Linked DNA regions of Homo sapiens: region 2 is linked to region 1. The links are contacts of gene promoters, found by promoter capture Hi-C in human tissues and cell types (Jung and others, 2019). All regions are on one chromosome and are shown on one strand. Each heading gives the region's core, a stretch centred on a gene start or on the middle of the fragment in contact. The rest is flanking DNA. Distances are from core to core; before and after follow the strand shown. Region 1 holds the start of CBX2 (chromobox 2). Region 2 holds the start of TBC1D16 (TBC1 domain family member 16).

The links. The method cuts DNA at HindIII sites, captures the fragments that hold promoters and counts their contacts. A contact is called where the count stands out against the background at its distance.
Region 2: a contact is called between the fragment with the promoter of TBC1D16 here and the fragment with the promoter of CBX2 in region 1, in 1 of the 25 tissues and cell types used here (pancreas).

The regions. Positions count from the first base shown.
Region 1 is chr17:79,776,574-79,779,407 of GRCh38, forward strand. CBX2 (chromobox 2) reads left to right here and starts at 1,575. Exons shown (of 5, transcript NM_005189.3): 1 at 1,575-1,734; 2 at 1,811-1,854; 3 at 2,789-2,834. The coding sequence starts at 1,663. RefSeq lists silencers at 1,380-1,759, 1,770-1,839 and an enhancer at 2,235-2,828. The HindIII fragment of the contact is 15,418 bases long and covers 1-2,834 here.
Region 2 is chr17:80,034,527-80,037,272 of GRCh38, forward strand. It overlaps TBC1D16 (TBC1 domain family member 16), which reads right to left and starts at 1,346. Exons shown (of 12, transcript NM_019020.4): 1 at 1,269-1,346. CCDC40 (coiled-coil domain 40 molecular ruler complex subunit) reads left to right here and starts at 2,116. Exons shown (of 20, transcript NM_017950.4): 1 at 2,116-2,165. The coding sequence starts at 2,137. RefSeq lists a silencer at 1,345-1,414 and enhancers at 1,605-1,724, 2,624-2,746. The HindIII fragment of the contact is 13,824 bases long and covers 1-2,746 here.

The sequences.
Region 1 (2,834 bases), core at 325-2,824:
AAAAGGAGCCGGCGGAGACACTGTTAGCGGATCCCTTCACTCCAGAGGCCAGTTTTATCCCAACACAAGGATTCTTTACTGCCTCTGCCCCTGAGTAAACAAACACCTTCCCCCCAAGGACATTTCCCTTTCTCCTGCCCTCTTTGCAAACAACATCTGAATTTGCACGTACTCTCCAGGAAATCAAATGAATGTAACCTATCTAACCAAAGAAACTGAAGAACACGCCATAAATTGAAAGATCGGTTCCTACAGTTCAGTATTTTCTCCAGTAGGCCTTTCTGTAAAAACAAAAAAACACATTTCTCCTGCAGAACCCTTTATAAATATGGTTTTGATGATCACAATTACATTGAGACAGTCTCCTACAACAAGAAACGACTTTTGGATCTGCTCAACAGAAAGAGAATTTTGCAGCTGTGTTCAAGGAAGCAAGAAAAGCAGAGAGTGAATTTTCATGGAGTTAGACTGCGTTGAGACGAATGAAGCTAAGGCTCAGGTCTCTTTCATTACGTGTTTGACTTGTCCTGATTCAAAATCTAAATAACTTAAAGGGTGATTCTTCATGGAATTCGAATCTTAACACCGGAATAAAAGGGTAGCCTGCTGACGACGATCACAGGGAGGACAAGGGGTCACCCCCACTTTCATAACATGGCCTGACCCTTTTCTGCCGCGGACAATTGATCCGAAGGACGCCGGCTGCCCAGCCCTGGCGGGCCACTACTGACCTAGTCCGAAGTTAGGAACAGCCTTGCAAACCGCCCCCTCCCCCTCCATTTCATCAAAATCGGGGAACAAATTCAGAAAAGGTGCAGCTGGTTTTCTCCCTACACGTGCCCTAAAACTCGGGGGCTGGATCCACTTTTCATAGCTGTTTAATAAGAACTCCGGGCAGTTCGTATTACTTCTTTCTCAGAGTGCTTGGTGGTTTAAGTTAAAGCATTTTCCTCTCTCGCCTTTGGGGGAAAAAGCCTCGGCTGCTGGGGTTTGTGGGCCCCTCCCCCGGACTTCGTCTTCCTTTCCTTCCCCAGCCCCCGACCCGTTTTGCTCTCGTCCAAAACAGAGCGACTCCCCCGCTGCCGAGGAAAAGCCAGTTCAAGAAGCCGGGGGAAGGGTGGGGCCCCGCGTGCCCCGGAGCAGCGCCCCTCGAAGGCGGGGGCAGGAAGCAGCCGCCGCGCCCCGTCCCGCTTCCCTCCCTTCGGGCCAGAACAATGGCTTTTTGCCCGGAAAACGGAGTTGGGAGCAAGGGCGGGCGCGCCCCGGGAATCACGCGGGACTCGGTGGGCGCCCCAGGCCCGAAGTCCCTAGGCACCTCCTCCCCCAGCCAGGGGCCCGCCCGCGCCCCCACCCCCGCCCCCGCCCCCGCCCGGGGCCCCGCGCGGGACCCCCCGCCGGAGCGCGAGGCCCAGCCCGCCGCGGACAATGCGCGCCCCGCCCCGCCCCGCACCCGCCCCCCCTCGCTGATTGGCCCGCACGGGATTTGGGCAGCGCGCGGGGGCGGGCGGCGGGCCGGGGCGCGGGCGCGGAGCGGCGGTGCGCGTGCGCGGGGCGGGCCGGCGCCGGGCGGGGGCGGTGCTTTGTGTGCTGCCGGCGGGGCGCGCGGCGGTCCGGGCGGGTGACTGGCGGCGGGCGCCGCGGTCGGGCTGGCTGCCGGGCAGCATGGAGGAGCTGAGCAGCGTGGGCGAGCAGGTCTTCGCCGCCGAGTGCATCCTGAGCAAGCGGCTCCGCAAGGTGCGTGCGGCCCGCCGGGCCCCCCGCCCGCCGCCCGCTGTCCGTCTGGCTCACGGCCCCTCTTCTCTCCCCGCAGGGCAAGCTGGAGTACCTGGTCAAGTGGCGCGGCTGGTCCTCCAAGTGAGTCCCCCGCGACGCCGCGCCCCCCTCCCGCCCCCTCGCCCGGGGGTGGGGACGTGGAGCCCCTCGGCCGCGCCGTCCGGTGGCCTGGGGGCGCCCGCGGGCAGAGCGGGAAGTTCGCGGGGTCCCCGCGGGCTCCTCCGGCTCTGAGGGGGGCGGGGGCCGCCCGGCCCGAGGTTGCCCTTTGTTTACACGCCCGCGGGTGCAGAGCTGGGCGGCCCCCCGCGCCAGAACCTCCTCGGCTGCCGCGCCGCGCTCCCCCCAACCCCCGTCCCGGCCGGGAGGGAGGCGCGGGATGCAAGCCCCCCTCCTCTTGGCCAGATTCTCCCCGCTGTAACCTGAGCTTGCTATTGATGGATGTAGAGTTTCTTTTTTTTTTTCTTTCTTTTAATGGAAGGGAGGGTGTTTGGCATCCCCGGAAGGGGCTCTCTGCACAGCTGCTCCCGCGGCCCCGTTTCTGCGTCTTCCCGGACCCCGCTCTTTCTTCGCTACCCCTCGAGGTGCCCCGGCCCGCGCGCCACATTGTTCTGGATCTCGGGCTGGGCGCCTGTGCCCCTCCCTGCATGCTGGACCTGCCTTCCCTTCCTCCTCTGGCTCCGGGCCAGGGTTTGGGGGAATCCCTCTCTGCAACTTTGCGTTTTATGGGGGTTTGTTTTTCTCCCAGGCAGAGACTGTGGGAGTCCTCTTGTGGCCTTGTTTTAATTGGGGGGTTGGAGCGGCAGTTTCCCTTTGGGTCTGAGGTTAGAGTGCTGGCTTGGTGGGGGGTGGCCAGCCTCCAAAACCTGGGTTTGGACTTTGAGAAGTGCCATGGTGCTACGGTGCCACTGCCATCGGCCCAAGTCGAGGAGCGGTGAGGGCGAGCCCCCTCGGGCTGCCTTGCAAAGCGGTGATCATCAGCCTGGCGTCTAATGCTGCCCTGTCCTCTGCTTTGCAGACATAACAGCTGGGAGCCGGAGGAGAACATCCTGGACCCGAGGCTG
Region 2 (2,746 bases), core at 96-2,595, 260 kb after region 1:
TCGTTAGCCATAGTCTCACCATAAACATGCCACTTACAAAAAAATATGCGCACAATAACCACGCTCAGGATGCAAACAACATCCATTAATGAACTTTGTAGTTAATACCAAAAGTTACTCCTCACTTTATTCTTTATTTACAAAAGCTTTCATGGTTCTTAAAAGTGTTTAGTATTCACCAATTTTACTGTTAGCGTTTCTAATGAGGATTTTCTAAAACTGAGGCATGGATTTGAAAAAGTGTTCTGATCAATCAGTAACAGATTTGGAATGGAATCTCCAGCCCCCAGTCTTTGCGCCCACCCTCTGGCAATATGCCGCCTCACGTGAGCATCTTTAAGACGGAGTTCCCTTTTTATTCCAGATAAAAGAATTAGGAGCCTTCTGGTAGAAAAGAAAGCAGATCTTCAGGATCAAGTCGCAGAGGCTGGCCAATCAGCCCAGCTTCTCATTTGAACTTGACCCAGACAGTAAAACAAACTTTACCATAAGGCGAGACTAACTTTTGTTATGTCTTTTCTATTCATTTCCTATTTCTGAATCAAATCTGAACTACTTTGTGGCCAATATACGACACCAGCTTCCGAGTGTGGGAATCACAGGATTTCAGGATTCAGCGGCTTCCGGCAGGATCCCCTAGGTTATGTTTAGCAATCTTCAGTTGCCTTTCCTTTTTTTCTTTCCTTCCTTTCGTTCTTTCTTTCTTTTTCTTTTTTTTTTTTTCCCAAAGGAAAGAACAAGGGAGCCCAGGCGGAACGGAAGTGAGTATCCCGACACGCGGATCTTAAACAGCCCAGACCACCAAGCCCGACAGGCCGGGAAAGCTGAGCGCGCGCTGCTGGGGGGACGCACACTTTGGAGGCTGTGTGGGCGCGCGCCGGCACCCCACAAGTTCTCATCCGTCTGCTCCGCCGATTCAGCCAGACAAAGACCGCAAGTTCCCCGGTCCACCGCTCCAGACAGGCGGGGACCAGTCTCCCCGAATTAGGCCCATTCCGGGCCCGGGCGCCCTCACTCGCCGCGGGGAAAAGTCCCCAGGTGCCCCTCCGTGATCCAGGTCCTCCCACAACGCTCCCGCTCCTGCTGGCGCCCCGCACCCCGAGGACGGCGGCCGGACCCCGGCCCCTCCCCGGTCCCGCGGCTGCAGGCCCACGCGCCCCACGCGCCCCGCGCGCCCCCGCCCCAGCTCCGCCGAGGGGGCGCTGCTCGCTGCGCGGTGGACCCCTCGGACCCCGCCCCCGCGGCCCCGTCCGGGCCCCGATACCCACCCGGGTCCCGCTGCGGGGGCCGGATTCGCGCCGGCTCCGAGAGCCGCCACCGTCGCCTCCGCCGCTGCCGCCGCCAGTGAGGCGCGGCGGGGCGGGGACGCGCGGGGAGGCCCGGCCCCCGGCCCGCCCCCGGGCCCGCCCCCGGCCCGGCCCCTGCCTGCCCCCGCCGGTCTCCCCGCCCACCTTCTGGCCCAGCCCTGGGCCCAAGCCTCTAGTTCCCTGCTGGCCCTCCCTCAGGCCTCGCCGCGTCCCGGCCTCGGGGACTGTGCCCCGTCCCGAGCCTGGCGTCCCCAAAGGAAAGGCAGGGCTCCTCGGACGCTCCGCGTGCGCGCTGGCCCTCCGCTGCCGCCCTCTGCAGGGAGATTTCTCCTATTTCGGACTAGGAAGGGAAGATACGCTCCGGAAGACCCCCCGGGCGTCCATGCAAGGAGTCTCCGTAGGACCCCTGGAGAAGGGCACCGGAGCCCCCTAGGGCAGGAGATGGAAAAGCGCTCGCCATGCGCGGGGTCCCCGGCCCCCGGTGCCCCCAGCCCGCCTGCCATTCCCGGGCGCTTAGCAGTCCGGGGTCCCCAGGTGCCCGGCAGGTCCCTTCGGGACCTCGAGCCGCCCGCTGGGCACACGCTGACGCCGCTGTCGCTTTACAGAAATTGAGCGCAGCCGAGGCGGGACCCGGGCGCAGAGAGCGATAAAGGAAAAGCATGGTCGTGCTCTAATCATTACAGTCTAAGGGACGACACGTCGAGACGGCGCGCGCCTCTGCGTGCGTGGAGATGGCACAAAGGCCGCGCCGCCCCCGGCGGCCCCCGCCCTCGCAGCGCGCGTGGTCCCGGCCCGGCCGGATGTTGACAGCGTCGCCTAGCAACGGGAAATGGCGGAACCGGGCGGCGCGGCGGGCCGGTAAGCCGGGCCGAGGGGCAGCGGGTCTTGGAGTCGCCAGGCCGCGCTCTCCGTTCACCGCTCCAGGTGGCCCCCGCGTCGGCTCCTGCCTCGCCCCTTCGCCTCCACTCCCCCTTCCTCTCGCCTGTGTCCCTTCTCTCGCCATTTTGCTGGCCTTTCCCGTCCACTGCGTTCAGCCCCTCACCCCCCCGCCAACCCTTCTCACTTCTCCCCTCCTGTCCCTTTGTCCTCTCTCGGCCTCCCTCTTTCCCCTACTCCAAGCGCGCGACTCCCTCTAAAACCCGGGACCGCTCACTCTGCAGTCACCATGGCAACCACTCTGCGTGGCGGTCCCTGCGCGCAGTCCTCCTAAGAGTAGAGGGCTCTGCAGGGCGCGGGGCTGTTGGATACCGCCCCTGACCTTGCTCCGGGGCCACTCGCTGTGGCCGGAGACCAGCCCGGCCCCGCGCCTCCCTCCTGCAAGGACAGATCCCCTCTCGCAGGCTTGGGGGTGACCCGCGATGGGAGGGGTCCCTGCGGTTAGGCGGCCCGCGATAGTCCGCGGTCACCGTCCTGGGGCCTGGGTGGAAGCACTGAGCGCG